Linked DNA regions of Homo sapiens: regions 1, 2, 4 and 5 are each linked to region 3. The links are contacts of gene promoters, found by promoter capture Hi-C in blood cells and fetal thymus (Javierre and others, 2016). All regions are on one chromosome and are shown on one strand. Each heading gives the region's core, a stretch centred on a gene start or on the middle of the fragment in contact. The rest is flanking DNA. Distances are from core to core; before and after follow the strand shown. Region 1 holds the start of AGPS (alkylglycerone phosphate synthase). Region 2 holds the start of HNRNPA3 (heterogeneous nuclear ribonucleoprotein A3). Region 3 holds the start of HOXD8 (homeobox D8). Region 4 holds the start of NFE2L2 (NFE2 like bZIP transcription factor 2). Region 5 overlaps LOC100130691 (Putative uncharacterized protein FLJ44553).

The links. The method cuts DNA at HindIII sites, captures the fragments that hold promoters and counts their contacts. A CHiCAGO score of 5 or more calls a contact.
Region 1: a contact is called between the fragment with the promoter of AGPS here and the fragment with the promoter of HOXD8 in region 3, in 2 of 17 cell types (naive CD8 T cells and total CD8 T cells). The highest score is 8.6, in naive CD8 T cells.
Region 2: the fragment with the promoter of HNRNPA3 here is called in contact with the fragment with the promoter of HOXD8 in region 3 in 2 of 17 cell types (total CD8 T cells and naive CD4 T cells); the score reaches 5.7 in total CD8 T cells.
Region 4: the fragment with the promoter of NFE2L2 here is called in contact with the fragment with the promoter of HOXD8 in region 3 in 1 of 17 cell types (total CD8 T cells); the score reaches 5.1 in total CD8 T cells.
Region 5: a fragment that was not itself captured here is called in contact with the fragment with the promoter of HOXD8 in region 3 in 1 of 17 cell types (naive CD8 T cells); the score reaches 6.9 in naive CD8 T cells.

The regions. Positions count from the first base shown.
Region 1 is chr2:177,391,241-177,394,164 of GRCh38, reverse strand. AGPS (alkylglycerone phosphate synthase) reads right to left here and starts at 1,392. Exons shown (of 20, transcript NM_003659.4): 1 at 1,116-1,392. The coding sequence starts at 1,375. LOC100130691 (Putative uncharacterized protein FLJ44553) reads left to right here and starts at 1,474. Exons shown (of 9, transcript NR_026966.1): 1 at 1,474-1,592. RefSeq lists a silencer at 1,173-1,392. The HindIII fragment of the contact is 4,249 bases long and covers 1-2,898 here.
Region 2 is chr2:177,211,411-177,214,110 of GRCh38, reverse strand. It overlaps HNRNPA3 (heterogeneous nuclear ribonucleoprotein A3), which reads right to left and starts at 1,317. Exons shown (of 11, transcript NM_194247.4): 1 at 1,240-1,317. The coding sequence starts at 1,311. MIR4444-1 (microRNA 4444-1) reads right to left here and starts at 1,385; the gene lies at 1,312-1,385. It overlaps LOC105373759 (a long non-coding RNA gene), which reads left to right and starts at 1,700. Exons shown (of 1, transcript NR_157853.1): 1 at 1,700-2,700. RefSeq lists an enhancer at 679-1,350 and a silencer at 890-1,679. The HindIII fragment of the contact is 9,993 bases long and covers 1-2,700 here.
Region 3 is chr2:176,128,279-176,130,978 of GRCh38, reverse strand. It overlaps HOXD8 (homeobox D8), which reads right to left and starts at 1,274. Exons shown (of 2, transcript NM_019558.4): 1 at 36-1,274. The coding sequence starts at 612. It overlaps LOC100129455 (a long non-coding RNA gene), which reads left to right and starts at 451. Exons shown (of 1, transcript NR_187615.1): 1 at 451-2,700. The HindIII fragment of the contact is 7,912 bases long and covers 1-2,700 here.
Region 4 is chr2:177,263,352-177,266,051 of GRCh38, reverse strand. It overlaps NFE2L2 (NFE2 like bZIP transcription factor 2), which reads left to right and starts at 1,325. Exons shown (of 5, transcript NM_006164.5): 1 at 1,325-1,520. The coding sequence starts at 1,476. RefSeq lists silencers at 1,182-2,051, 2,312-2,471 and an enhancer at 2,152-2,700. The HindIII fragment of the contact is 5,708 bases long and covers 1-2,700 here.
Region 5 is chr2:177,334,172-177,336,937 of GRCh38, reverse strand. LOC100130691 (Putative uncharacterized protein FLJ44553) reads left to right here. Exons shown (of 9, transcript NR_026966.1): 3 at 2,409-2,545. Among named protein-coding and RNA genes, the nearest start is that of MIR6512, 22 kb to the right of the region's middle. The HindIII fragment of the contact is 2,702 bases long and covers 1-2,619 here.

The DNA.
Region 1 (2,924 bases), core at 143-2,642, 1.3 Mb before region 3:
TATTTTGTAAAGACTCATGTATGTTGAATTAATTCATCAGAAGCAAGTATAGCTTAGGAACTTGGCCATGAAGTCAATTTGATGTGCTTTCAAATTCTAACCTGTCACACAGCATATCTGCTAAGACTCCAGCAGACTTAATTTATTCATCTGTAAAATGGGAGAAAACCGCACATACCTCATAGCTTGGGAAGAAACAAAGGATTTAGCACACTTTGGCACACTTAAAAGTACACTTTAAACATTAGCTACTTATTTTTTTCACTCTCGGTTTATCCATTTATCCACGGTGACAAAGCCACACGTCAGAAAGTAGCTTCTCCTAATAGCCTTCATCAGAGATTGAGGAGATCGAGACCATCCTGGCTAACACGGTGAAACCCTGTCTCTACTAAAAATACAAAAAAAAAAAAAAAGATTTCTCCAAAAACATCGAAAGTCAAGATCTCTTACAAACATCCCTCATCGGTTAGACTCTTGTCTTTTAGCTTCTGGTTACACAGAGCTCAGTAGCTATACCACCACACCTTAAACCACTAGCTAGTGTTTGCAGTTTATGGCTTCTTACCATTCATCGGTTTCCTCCCTCAAAGTCAATACATCTTGATCCTAAGCAAGTGGAACTTACCCCACAGAAACCAGTCAGCACCTTTTTCCAGGGCACCACCAGTTTCCCCCACAGCAGGCTTTCGCGAATGAGAGAGATTCCTATGATCTATCATCTAGTACAAATTTATATCTCCTCGGAGAAAAATAGAACCTCTGCTACCCATTCCAAGACCTCAGCACCAAAAGTATTAATTCAAGATAAAAAATGAATTCCTGGCACTAAAAGCTCAGGAAAAAGGAATCCTTTAAACCCTTCTCCAACGAGAGTTCTTCAAGCCTGTTACCCTCACATAGTGACCAAAATCCACCATCCCATCCCGCCCCCTTCCTGACAGAATCCAGGGTCTAGTCCACTCTCTCGAAAGAGAGGTGGGTCCCTACTTTCAGGGACCGGGATGCCTTCCGCCCACCCGTGTCACTTCCCTTCCCACCTCGCCTGTGCCCTCCTGCAGCACAGGCCCGGCCTGGTCCCTCGACGCTAACTCCTTCCACATACCGCTACTCACCGCTTCTTTGGGATGGTGCCCGACTCCTGCGCGGCGGGAGTGGCCGTGGGCGCTGCCGTGGCCGCCGACGCGGCTCTCCGCGCTTTGCACTCATTGGTACTCAGAGCCTCCCGGGGCCGGCCCAGCAGATGGCCAGAGAGAACCCGCAGCCTCCGCCCGGCGCGGTCCGGGTCCGGGTCCCGGTCCCGGTCCGCTGCAGACCCGTAGCTCGCGCCCGCGCCCAAGCCAGTCCCACCCGCTGCAGCCGCCGCCTCCGCCATGGCTACCGCCTTGTGCTGCCGCCCGGAACCGCTGGGCGCGGGTGAAAGGTCACTCAGAGCGGCGCCCGGCGCGACCATTCGCTGCGGCGCATCCCGGCAGCCACCGCGGCGACTTGGCGGCGGGTGCCATGCGTCTGGAGCTTCACATTCTCTGCCCCCCACCCACCGCGCCGGCGCTCCCTTGTCACGCCTCGGGAAGCGCGCACCTGCCAAGCAGGTGAGTTCGAGCTGACTCCCGGTTGGCCCAGCCCGGTCCAGCTGGACCGAGAGCCAAACCACGTCCGCCCTCGAGGTGTCCTAGAACCCTGGGTGGTGTCCTCGGGTGTGGCCTGGGGGCTTTCGAGGGCAGATGCCTTGGAGCAGGAGAAATGGGCAGTGCTACTGGACCTGATGGATCCAGCGGCATCCTTTTCCTGAAAGAGATTCTAATGTTCCACCTGTGCTCTTCCTCCCTGCGGGGTCACCAAAGTAACTCAAAGCTGACCATCATTGCCTCTAACCATTAGAGCAAATAGCTCTATCATTTTCTTATTTCTCACCACCTATTTCGTGCCTGGCACTGTGTTTAATGCTAGATCACAAGTAAGTACAGAAACTGAGTTGCAACTTAAGTTCTCATTTCATTCATTACTGGATCCTAACCCCTTCCTAACTTTAATAGAGATAAAGTTTCTTATTGCTACAGACAAAAATTACCCAAGAGCTGTGAAGACATCTCAGTTATTTACAGATTGAATTCATTTCTGGAAGATAGCACGTGAAAAGTGCTCCTCACCTGTTTCAGCCGGTGTCTTGCATAAGAATTAGCTTAGACAAAAACTCACATACACTGGCCATTGTCATTCTCCATCCTGTCACCACTTTCACATCATGCTTTCCTAACAAGAAAAATATTGGCAGAGGAATCTGAAGAACACCACATCCATGGGACTAGAGACTAACAATTGCTCTCTTGGGTGTTGCCAGCTTCTAAAATTGAGATTATGCCTTTAGAGTGAACTTCCAAAGAGGCCCAGACTGGTTAAAAACTCTCAATTAAGGGCTAAGCAAATTGCTGTTGGAGGGCCAGCTCTAGTCTGTGGCCTGTTTTTACACAGCCCTCATGCTAATGGTTTTTGTATTTGAGAAGGGTTGTTAAAAGAAAACAAGAAATTTTTTAAAAGAATATGCAACAGAGACCTTATGTGGTCCCAGAAGCCCCAAAATATGTATTACCTGGCCTTTACAGGAGGTCCGAATGTCTTCTGAAATTTATATACGAAGAGATACCAAACCATTGAAAACAGTCCAAATGTCTAGCAACAGAGAAATGGTTAGTCAATATGTTAAAATACTTTTGCAGCTATTAAAATAATTTAGTACAGTTGTAGAAACAAGAAAGAATTAGGAATTTGTTAAATATAAAAAATGGCCATAACCTAGGCATCTTATACGTATCTATTTAATCAATCTTTGCAGTAACACAATGACACAGTTTTATTATCCTTATTTTATAGATGAAGGCTCAAGGAGAGTAAGAAGCTTTTCTTAAATAGCTATATTTTATCTC
Region 2 (2,700 bases), core at 68-2,567, 1.1 Mb before region 3:
CATTAAGGTTTCCTTCACCCGAAGTTCTTAAATAAGGGGCTCACATTTACATTCTAATGTCTTCCTGTGTCTCCTAGAGGTAGAGATGTTAAACCGTTTAATGTGAAGAGATTGTCACATGCTAGAAAAAAACGTTAATAGCCTAAAGCATTAATTCATGTAATCTCATCTTTTCAAGTCTTGGATAAATGTATTCGATTGACAATAACGAAATCGACAAAAATATTTAGGATCCACATTAAATGTACTGCAAAAACGTGAAAATTTCAACTCTGGTTGCAGTCCTCTAAATAAAATTCCAGGAAACTACAACCAGAGCCGACTCAAAGAATGGGAAAACATGAAGATAAAAAACATTTCTAAATTCTTCCTTAACATACTATACTCAAATTCTTCTCCACCCACCCTCCTCAGCGGCCGGAGCCGGGAAGGAGCTGGCTGGGTTGTTTTTCACATCTACACTCAAATTCTCAAAAATTAAGTCCTTCGCCCACATGGCGGTTTAAGAAGTGTAATGTAAGTACTTTAGCAAAAATATATCAGGAAGTATTTTAAAGCAGCAAAGTTTTTAACAATCTCGTATTTCCAACAGGATGCTGCGAAAAAAAGAAAAGGCCAATTATCGACTTCTCGCGGAGAGGACCCGTAAAAGGCCTAGAAAAGCGTCGGCAGAACTTCAGCGAAAGCACTACCTCCCCATGCTTCGAGGCCATTTGCGGCTTTTTCTGCCGGGCCGCCTCCGCCCTCTTCCCTCCAATCCCAGGCTCGCTTTCCCGGCGGCAGAGCGAGGCGGCGGCCATTGCGGGCCAATGCGCCATTTCGTAACGCGGCGGCGGATCAATGTCAATGTGGCCGCCGCCCGCTTGCTCGCTCGCCCGGATGTGCCTGCTCGTCCCCTCCCCTCCCCCACCACCTCCTCCCAACCGCTCCCGCCGGGGCCCGCCATGCCGCCCTCGGCCTCGCTTCGGAGGCCGCGCAGCCGGCAGGCCGGCTTCCCTCCCGAGGCCTCCCCGACCAAGCCGCGCCTCCAAGGGGCCGCCTGTGCAGCCGAAGGTGAAGGCGAGGCGGGCGAGGGGCCCCAAGGAGGTCTCCAACTCTCGCTCCCCTCCCCCTCCCACAGCCTGTCTCAACGCAAGAGCGCGGGACGGCCGACCCGGTCCACCCGGCCTCCCCGCTCCCACCGAACCAGGCCCCCAACGCCGGCCATTCCCCACCAACCCCCCGCTCTCCCCCTAATACCTCCTCCCCCCGGCGGCGACGGCGACGGCCGGAGTCGGGCTGGGGGCGACCGGGCGGCGGTTTTACCTCCATTTTGAGACCGGACTCGCCTCTTCCAACTCGAGTTCAATATGGGACCGAGAGGAAGAGGCGGGGCCAGTCGTCACGTGACGCGTTTTCCGCGCGCCGCCAGTCTGTTGGGGGAGGAGCGAATTGGGAAGGGGGCGGAGCCAAGCGGGCGCGAAGAGGGACTGGACCAGCGGGTTGGCGGGCGGAGGGCGGAGGCGCGGCGTGCCGCGGGAGCGCGCGCGCCTCGCCAGCTTTCAGGGGAAGAGGGCCTTTGCCGCCGTTCGCGTCAGGGCGAGTTCCGGGACGTCAGTGCGGTCTCCGCCAATGGTGAGCGTCCACGTAGAGGGAACGCCTTGTGATCGCGCGTCACCAGAGAGAAAGGCCTTTCCCTTTCTTCTCGCGCTTGTCCCTCATTCCCCACGCAGGCCTCTAGTTCTCCATTTCAGAATTCATTCTATTCCTGTGCCCGAAATAAAACCCACGTTTTTCTTGCTTGTAATTTAAAGGTTGCAAGAAAAACTCCTCGGCCCCTCGGACCATCTTTCCTGTTTCCAAATGCCGGGGACCAGTGTCTGTGACTGCGCCGCCTGCCTGAGGGCATGTACTGAAAAGCCCTGCGACTCCAACATGTGGGACTCACAAGCACCTTGGACAGGCCTCAAAACGCGGCTGACATACAGAATTTTTACCATTAACGACCTGAGGCAGGACTGGTGGAGGTCAGTTCATTAGTTACTGATCTCAAGAAACAAGTCAGGACTATTTTCTAATGTGCTTCTTTCAAGTTAGTGTGGAAAGAGCTGATGCATCTGTTGTAGCTGACGGAATTTAAGGAACTGAATAATTGACAAGATTTCCAGAAAAGCAGGGTCGCCAGATAATGCTACCTGTTTGCGAATGATTGTTACCGTAATGCTCTAGAGAGCTAATCCTTTCTCGGCCTAGTCAGATGATTTTAAATCATTTGATTTTACAGAGCTTTAGTTTCAGTTTTTTAAATGAAAATGGGGATGGGATTAGGTCATCTTCTAACACCCACGACAGCCATAAATTGATAATCTATGGATCCATATTTAAAGTTACTGATAAAAATAACCACAATTGACCAGCCTCCCTTCCCTGTTAGGAAATGCTTTATATTTTAATTTAGCAACCCATGTGACCAACCCTTTTAGAATTGAACTGGCTCTCCCTAGGAAAGGTTAGAAATCTAATCAGTTATAGTAAGTTTCTGTTAACAAATGGGGAGTGGTCGACTTGGAGTTTGGAAAAGGGGAGCGTAAAGTCTAAAAGTTTGTTAATTTATCTAGCCGTTGCTCCAGGAGGACCTGTGTTATAGTTTGGAAACATTTACAAAGGGTATTTTTGTGGGGCAGAAAACAGTTAGCAGTCCTTAATGTAATTTGGTTGAAA
Region 3 (2,700 bases), core at 25-2,524:
CCCTCTCCCTTCTTAAAAAAAAAATGCATCCCAACCTTGTGGTCTCATCCACGGAAACATTTGAGAAGGAGACGAGCTCTGATTTAAGTGGTCTGGGTCCTCGCCAATATTACCACTGGACGATTTACAGTCAGGATATTGTACCAGCTCGGCCTCTTGCTGGGTCGTAAAAATCGGCTGTCTCTGTAAGTTATCGTATCCGTAAAACTTCGCGGGCTCCCCGTGACAGGCAATCCCGCCGCAGGGGGGAGGTGGCGGCGGAGGCGGAGGATGCGGAGGAGGAGGGGGGGCGGCCTGGTAGGCAGCGGCCGGGCTGCCCCCGCCGGGGTGGAAGTACTCCTGGCCCCGGCCTTCCCTACCGCCGCACCCAGTCCCGGAGGGCGGCGGGGACGGGTGCGGGTGCGCGTGCGCCTGCGGGGGCGCGTGCGGGAAGCCGGCGGCGCTGTTGCCATAGAGCTGCAGGGCTGCTGCGGCGGCGGCGTGACGGCCGCCGACCTCGGGCGCGAAGTGACAGTCGTAGTAAGTGGGATTGATGGCCTCGCCCGCCGCCGCCGCCGCCGCAGCCGCCGCCTTGTACTTGGAGTACAGCGGGTTCACGAAGTACGAACTCATTGGGGCGTCAGCGGCGGCGGCCCCGGGCGGGCGGGCGGCGCTAAGCAGCCAGAGAGCGAGCCTCGACTCGGCCGCACTGCCGCGGGGGCCTGTGGGGCGGCTGCTCTCGCCGCCGGGACCGCCGGGCTACGTCGCTGCTGCCGCCCGCCCGCGCTCGCGCGTCGCTTCTGAGGCCAGGCAGCCGCGGGCGCTCAGCTACTGGGCGCTCATGCCCGGCTCTTGCGCCCGCCGCCTCGGCTTCGCGCCGCCTCCCTCGCGGGTCGCGGGGCCTCGCCCAGCCCCCGCGCGCCGCCGCCCTCCCGGCCTTTCCCGGCGCGCCCCGGCTCGGCCGCAATATAATCGCCGACGCCCCAGGCGACCTGCCCCGCTGCCTCCACTGTTTCCTCTCAGGCACCAGTGACTGAGCGCACCCGGACAAGAAAAAAGTGCGCTCGGCCCACGGGGACACTCTGGCCTCGGTTTACAAACCCCGGCTCTGGAGGGAAAAGAAAAAAAACACCCTCTGCCCGCCGCCACCTCTTACCGCGCCCCCCCCGCGCCCCCCTCCCGCCAATCTCGCCCCCGCCGCCGAGGCTGCCGACCCGGTGCGCACCGGCGAGGCATTTTCGCACCACAGCACTGCACGGAAAGTCAGCGTGACGGGGACGAGGAGCCCCGCGGAGGGATCCGCGCGCAGTTCAGTCGCTACGGCCGACGGACGGAGCGCCGCGCCCGGCCCGAGATGCCTCCGCCGGCCTTAAAGGGGGCCCATAAAGACGCACTGCCAAGGGCTCCGTGTGCCCCGGGGCCGCGGGAATGCGGATCGCAGCCGGCAGGGAGGGGCCGCGGCGGAGCCTTAGACTTGGGGGAGCCAAGGAGGCCACTCCCAGGAGGCTGCGGAGCAAATGACTGCCTCCCCGAGCCCCTGGCTGCAAAAGCAGAGGTTGCCCGTGGCTTTTGCAGCTCTGGACACGCGGGTGCAGCCCAGGGAACGTGGACAAGAGGTGTTGACGGACCGGACCGTGCATTTGAGTTGGGGCATATCGAAGTGGTTTAATTAAAAGCCGCGAGTGTGGCCCCAGATCCTGGCGTTATCAAAGCAAATCAAAGCCTTTCTTTTCCAGCCGAGCGGGCCCTGTGGAAATGAGATGTACATTTACCCTTGACGCACCGCAAGCCTGGCCGAGGCTCTCAGGTTAATTGATATTTAATGGAAATCATGCCCATGAATATAGTTTCCATCATTTCACCCTTGATAGACGTCAGCCCTGGGCGCAGGGGGAGGCTGAAGAATGCAGGAGGGGGCATTAGGCTTGCTGAGAGAGTAAATAGAAGAGCGGACAGAAACGTTCTGAGGCGGGAAAAAGGGCTCGCGCTGGGGAGGGTGACATTTCCTCGGGCAGGACGCGGCTCCCGGGTCTCAGCCCCGGCGCGCAGCGAACCAGGGCCGGCTGCGGTTCCCGGAGGAGTGCGGAGGGCAGACGACCGCAAGTTCCCCCCAGGAGCCTCCCAGCCGGCGTTCAGATCGCGCCGGTTCCAGGCAGCTGCAGGCGGCCCATCTTATGCTAACGATCCTACTTCCTCCGCCAAGCCTGTGAAATTACTGCCGAGAGAGCGCGCAGGCCTCAAAGTTACGAATTTTTCCCAAAGCAGAGAAAGAGAAGGCTCAGCCTAGTTTGTGAGCAGAGATGAAGAAAAGTTGCCCGAGTCATGTGGCCCAGTCGAGTGTGAATCGACAAAATATTCCCGATTTTAGCAGCTCTCTCCAAAGCTGTCTGGCTTTACCCTACCAACCGCCTCCCCACACACTTCCTTTCCCTCTCTGCTCCCGTTTCAATGTCCAATAAATGCAATGGTTCTCTGTTGTGTGTGTGTGTTTTCCCCTCTCCTGCTCGGCCTTTCTCGTGGGCTCTTTGGGTGACTGAGCCCCGTTTCCTTCGGGATAGGTACAATGTCGTGAGGGCGCCAGGCCCACAGCCTTGGAAATAGACCTCCAAGGCGCCCCTGCTCAAGCTAAACGCACCACGCCGGCTTTCCACACCAAATGCAAATTTCCGAAAACCCCAGACGGCCTCAGAGATGCTGCAGGCTGGCGAGCGATTTCAGCTA
Region 4 (2,700 bases), core at 76-2,575, 1.1 Mb before region 3:
GGGGTGTGTGTGTGGTTTTTGAATGAAATAGCAAAACCACTGCCAGTATTATCTACTTCACCTGGTTTTGAATAATTCCAGGAAGCTAGAAACTGAAAACCAGTCTTGTATAGAGTTAGAAAGATTGTAAATGCAGAAGAGGAAGAAAAAAACAAAACTAAACCATTTATCTATCCTCTTTGAACCCTTATAAGAGTTCACAATATTCCTCGTTTCAAATACTTGAAGTCTTCTCTGGGCAATGATTAATTTTTAAATAATTGTTTTTAATGTAAGACATAAAACATACGCACTGCAGATTTAAAGCATACTTGGAAGTAACAAGGAGAAACATAAAAATCGTTGATTCCACAGCATTTAATATATTGGTAACCTTCAATTTTTTTCTAGGCACGTTTTTATAAAATGAGCCAATACTATACAAACGTTTTTGTAACTTTTTTTAATTTGTACTATTTTGTGAGTACGTGAAAAAGAAATTTGTAAAGAGTAAACGATTACAGCATGTTGTGGTATTACACACTGTTGAAGGGCGCCATCTGTGGCGTGGTGGCTGCGCTTTGGTGGGAAGAGGTTCTCTTGGGGTTCCCGTTTTTCTCCCAGCTCTGGGTGGGCAATACTGACCACTCTCCGACCTAAAGGGGCTTCTCCGTTTGCCTTTGACGACCTGAGCTTAGGAGAATGGAGACACGTGGGAGTTCAGAGGAGGGCGTTCAGGGTGACTGCGAACACGAGCTGCCGGAGCTGTCCACATCTCCCCTAGGCAGGGCCCACTGGCCCCAGCCCGGGAAGGGAGCAAGGGCGGGAGGGCAGTTGGCAGTGGCACGGTCTGGGTCCAAATCTTTAGCCCCCCCCACCCCGGCTGGCGCCATTCTCGGGCGGTAAAGTGAGATAAAAGCAGGGCAAGGTTCTGCAACTCCAAATCAGGGAGGCGCAGCTCCTACACCAACGCCTTTCCGGGGCTCCGGGTGTGTTTGTTCCAACTGTTTAAACTGTTTCAAAGCGTCCGAACTCCAGCGACCTTCGCAAACAACTCTTTATCTCGCGGGCGAGAGCGCTGCCCTTATTTGCGGGGGAGGGCAAACTGAACGCCGGCACCGGGGAGCTAACGGAGACCTCCTCTAGGTCCCCCGCCTGCTGGGACCCCAGCTGGCAGTCCCTTCCCGCCCCCGGACCGCGAGCTTCTTGCGTCAGCCCCGGCGCGGGTGGGGGATTTTCGGAAGCTCAGCCCGCGCGGCCGGCGGGGGAAGGAAGGGCCCGGACTCTTGCCCCGCCCTTGTGGGGCGGGAGGCGGAGCGGGGCAGGGGCCCGCCGGCGTGTAGCCGATTACCGAGTGCCGGGGAGCCCGGAGGAGCCGCCGACGCAGCCGCCACCGCCGCCGCCGCCGCCACCAGAGCCGCCCTGTCCGCGCCGCGCCTCGGCAGCCGGAACAGGGCCGCCGTCGGGGAGCCCCAACACACGGTCCACAGCTCATCATGATGGACTTGGAGCTGCCGCCGCCGGGACTCCCGTCCCAGCAGGTGCTGCCTCGGCCCTCTGGGCCCTGCGGTGGTGCCGGGACGGGGGCGGGGGAGCTAGGGAACCGCGGCCCGGGAGGGACAGCCGCAACCGGCTTCCCCCACGTCTGGCCAGAGCCAGGACCGCGGCGCTGGGTAGAGCCGCCGCGCTTGCGCCGGGGCAGGGCGGGGAGGGGCAGCGGGGACGCGGCCGGGTGATCCGACCGACCACGAGCCCGAGGGCGAACGGGTGGGAAGTTGCGGGAAGGTCTGGGGACTGAGCCCGCTCGCGTGGGCCTTGGGGGAGAATCCAGCCGCGTCCCCGGGCCCGAGAGCTGGGACTCCGGAGCCCCTAAGTTTGAGCGGCCCGGTGGGCGGCGGGGCAAGAGGGGGCGGACGCTGGCCGTCTGAGCCGGCGCGGCCCGGCCCTTCCGGGGCTGCGCGGCTCCCCCGCCTCGGTGCCGGCAAAAATGTGCCTAGTCACGGGGCCGCTCTCGGGGGAACTGAGGTCGCCTTCGGGCTGGGACCCGGAGCCCCTTCGCCGCGCCCCAAGACCTCCTTGAGTGCGGGCTGCGACGCGCTCACCCCGCTGGGCCGTCTGTGGGCGCGGCTTTGCGAAGTCATCCATCTCTCGGATCACTCTCTGGCAGCCTTGAGCTCTCTTGAAAGCCCAGCCCCGGGACGAGGGAGGAGCGCCTTAAGTGCCCAGCGGGCTCAGAAGCCCCGACGTGTGGCGGCTGAGCCGGGCCCCGCGCACTTTCTCGGCCGGGGAGGGGTTCGGGCTCGGGCACCCGGAGTTGGCCCCTCGTAACGCCGCGGGAAAGTGCGGGCGAGGGCAGTGGACTCTGAGGCCGGAGTCGGCGGCACCCGGGGCTTCTAGTTCGGACGCGGTGCCCCCTGGTGGCGCTCACCGCGCGCGTGGCCTTGGCTTCCGTGACAGCGCTCGGTTGGCCGTCACAGCAGCCCTCGGTTGGCCCTTTCCTGCTTTATAGCGTGCAAACCTCGCCGCGCCAGGGCCAAGGGACAGGTTGGAGCTGTTGATCTGTTGCGCAATTGCTATTTTCCCCAGAGCGGCTTTGTCTTTGGATTTAGCGTTTCAGAATTGCAATTCCAAAATGTGTAAGACGGGATATTCTCTTCTGTGCTGTCAAGGGTAAGAGTTGCGAGTGTAGATTAGAATTTCTGTTGCTTTTAGTCTGTTAGT
Region 5 (2,766 bases), core at 19-2,518, 1.2 Mb before region 3:
AAGATCTTACTCTTTCGGAATCAGCACTTTAACATATGCTCTTCTAAGACCCCAGGTAAGGAGGTGAATTCGACTGATTTGCAAATCAGCAATCAACAAGAACAAATATTGGTTTATAGCTATCTCCATCCTAGGGCTATAAAAGTTTCTTTTAACAAATTCACAGCTTGGGTTTCAGTTCATGTTTTAAGATGAGAATTTAGAGATTTTCATTTGTTAATGTCTTCAAATGAAGCAGCTAGCCTTAGCACCCAGCTCTTGAATTCCTCATTTCCTTCATACTGTTCTGTGACAACAGCAATTCTCTCCCCCATGGTCTTGTCTTTAATACCCAACTCAATCCTAATGCTCACAGGCATTAATTTCATTAGCTATTTTACTACTATAAGCTGTGGGTTTCCAGAGTCTCATCTTTGAATATTAATTGGTTTTTATTATCTTCAAACACAATGAGTCTGCATACCCAGATTCTCCTGATTTCCCTGAAAGTCTGTTGTGTGTAACCGAATCCCCATTACCAGTTTCTGTACAAGTCAGAATTCCTATTTGCCAGCATTAGTAACCAATTCTAGGTAGATTAAATAGAATGGAATTTACTGAAAGAGTAACAGTATCTATATACAAAGTTATTTGGGAAAGTTAAAAATCAGGCTCAGAAATCAGACAGGAGCCAAAGGAGGCTGGCAGCAGATGAATCAGCCAAGGACCACTGAAGGAATAGTCTGATTAGAATGCTGCCAGAACTTGGTGAAGAACTGTTATAGGAAGAGCCTAAATAGAAACTAAGGACAGTGCCACCACCAGACATTCTCTTCTCCTGAATTACTGACATCATCACTGTCTCAGTAGATAGCTTGATGGTTTCTGCATCTTTGCATCACTCCTTCTGGATTCAATGTGGGAATCCCACTGGACAAACTTCAGTTATGTGCTGATGTCCTTGCTGTCTAGAAGAGGAAGATATGCCTTTTTTCAGTTCCTATAACAGGAAAAGTGTTGAGATGCCAAATACCAAAGCACACAAACCCCAGACACACAAACACATCCAGGACACCATACTTGGGTTTGTTTCTGGACTCACTGTTTTATTGGTTTGTTTGTTTATTTTGCTGTCATTATGCTACTGTTTTAATTTCAGCTGTTTTATCTTTTTTAAAAAATCTAGCAGTTAAAATCCTCCTTCCTCTCAAATGGTTGTCTTTTTTTCTTGACTCTTTTCAGTTTAACTTTTCTCAAGGAACTTCAGAACTCTTTTGTAAAGTTTCAAAAAAAATTCCATTGGCATTTCCATTGGAATTGTATTATATTTATGAATATATTTGGGGAATAATTAAAAAATTTTTAAATGCCGAGTGTTCTTATCCAAGAACATGGTATATCTCTGTTTAAGCCTTGGCAATTTTATAGTTGTCTTCACATAGATTTGACATACTTATTAAGTTTATGTTTTTGTTATTCTGGTAATTACAATTTTTTCCACTTTGTTTTCCTTTAAAAGAGTTTCAAAGCCCCCCTTTTGGACCACAGAAAATCTTAACGTGTTATAACCTAACTATGCAAATAGCTCTGTGATTCTAATTTCTCTTTTAAGCAATATAAATCATTGAACTACATTCTTCCTATGTTTATCCAGCTTTCCTTACCAAATTAAATCTCATACTTTGTAGTGTAAATTTGAGTTTGAAAGTTAAAGGTAAAGAATGTTTTCCAGGGGACTAAAACAGGAAAAATACTGTCAACAGAATTGAATAAATTGGAAGATGGAGGCCACTGCGCTAGTACTACAGTGCCCCCTAGTGGAAAAAAGGAAGCATGGGCATGTTTATACCAAGAATGACCCCAGTCTCTCTTCCACAGGCAATTAGAATCTGGAGGTGTGTTAGTGGTCAACTAGGTCAACTCCTCTGGCTTCCAAAAAGGGAAACTGAGAAACAAAATGAAGAAATGACTGGCCCAAATTCACATTGTCAACCCAAGGCTTAAATCCAAGATTCCTAACTCTCATTTTTCTTCCTTTTTGCTACCCTTTCTTTTTTCTTCCTTCCTAGTTCAAAATATATTGTGCTCTTATTATAAAGCACAATATATTCTAGGAATGTGTTCTAGGAATACAGATATAAAGAAGATTTAGTCGTTGCCTTCAAATCTAGTTTTACTTCAAGCCTAATTTTTTTAGCCATTTTCAGGGAATGAATTTGTTGGGGAATGACCAAACAACTATGCAGGGGAAGGTTCTCAATCATCCACAAATTGACTCACAATATGATTAATTAATTATTGAGTTTTAACTGGAAAGTACAATCACAAATGTGAAAATTGCCCTTGATCAGATTCAGACCATTTCATGAGGAGGTAAGGCATACTTTCAAATGGCCTGCATTAACCTTAATCTTATTTCTCCTTTGCAGATTCAAAACTGTGGACTATCTTGCAAAAAATACAAGAAGATATTGAAAGTTTTCATGAGTGCCTACCACCTAATCTCAAACACTATCATTCATATGTGCCTCATTGAGCAAATCTTTAATGAGGATCTATATGCCAGGTATGTGCTAAGCTCTGTGCTTAGTGTGGCAAAGAGAACAGATATGGCCTTGAGGTTTCTGCTCTCACAAAGCTTATAGTCTCCTATTTGTGTATGTGTAATTCTCTAAAGCTCAGGAAAGCTGTTTTCCTCATTTTTCTTTGGCATCATATTTTTAGGCTATAGAAATCAGAAAGTACGCAAACATTTTCTAAAATTACTCTGCCCCACAAAAAGGGAAA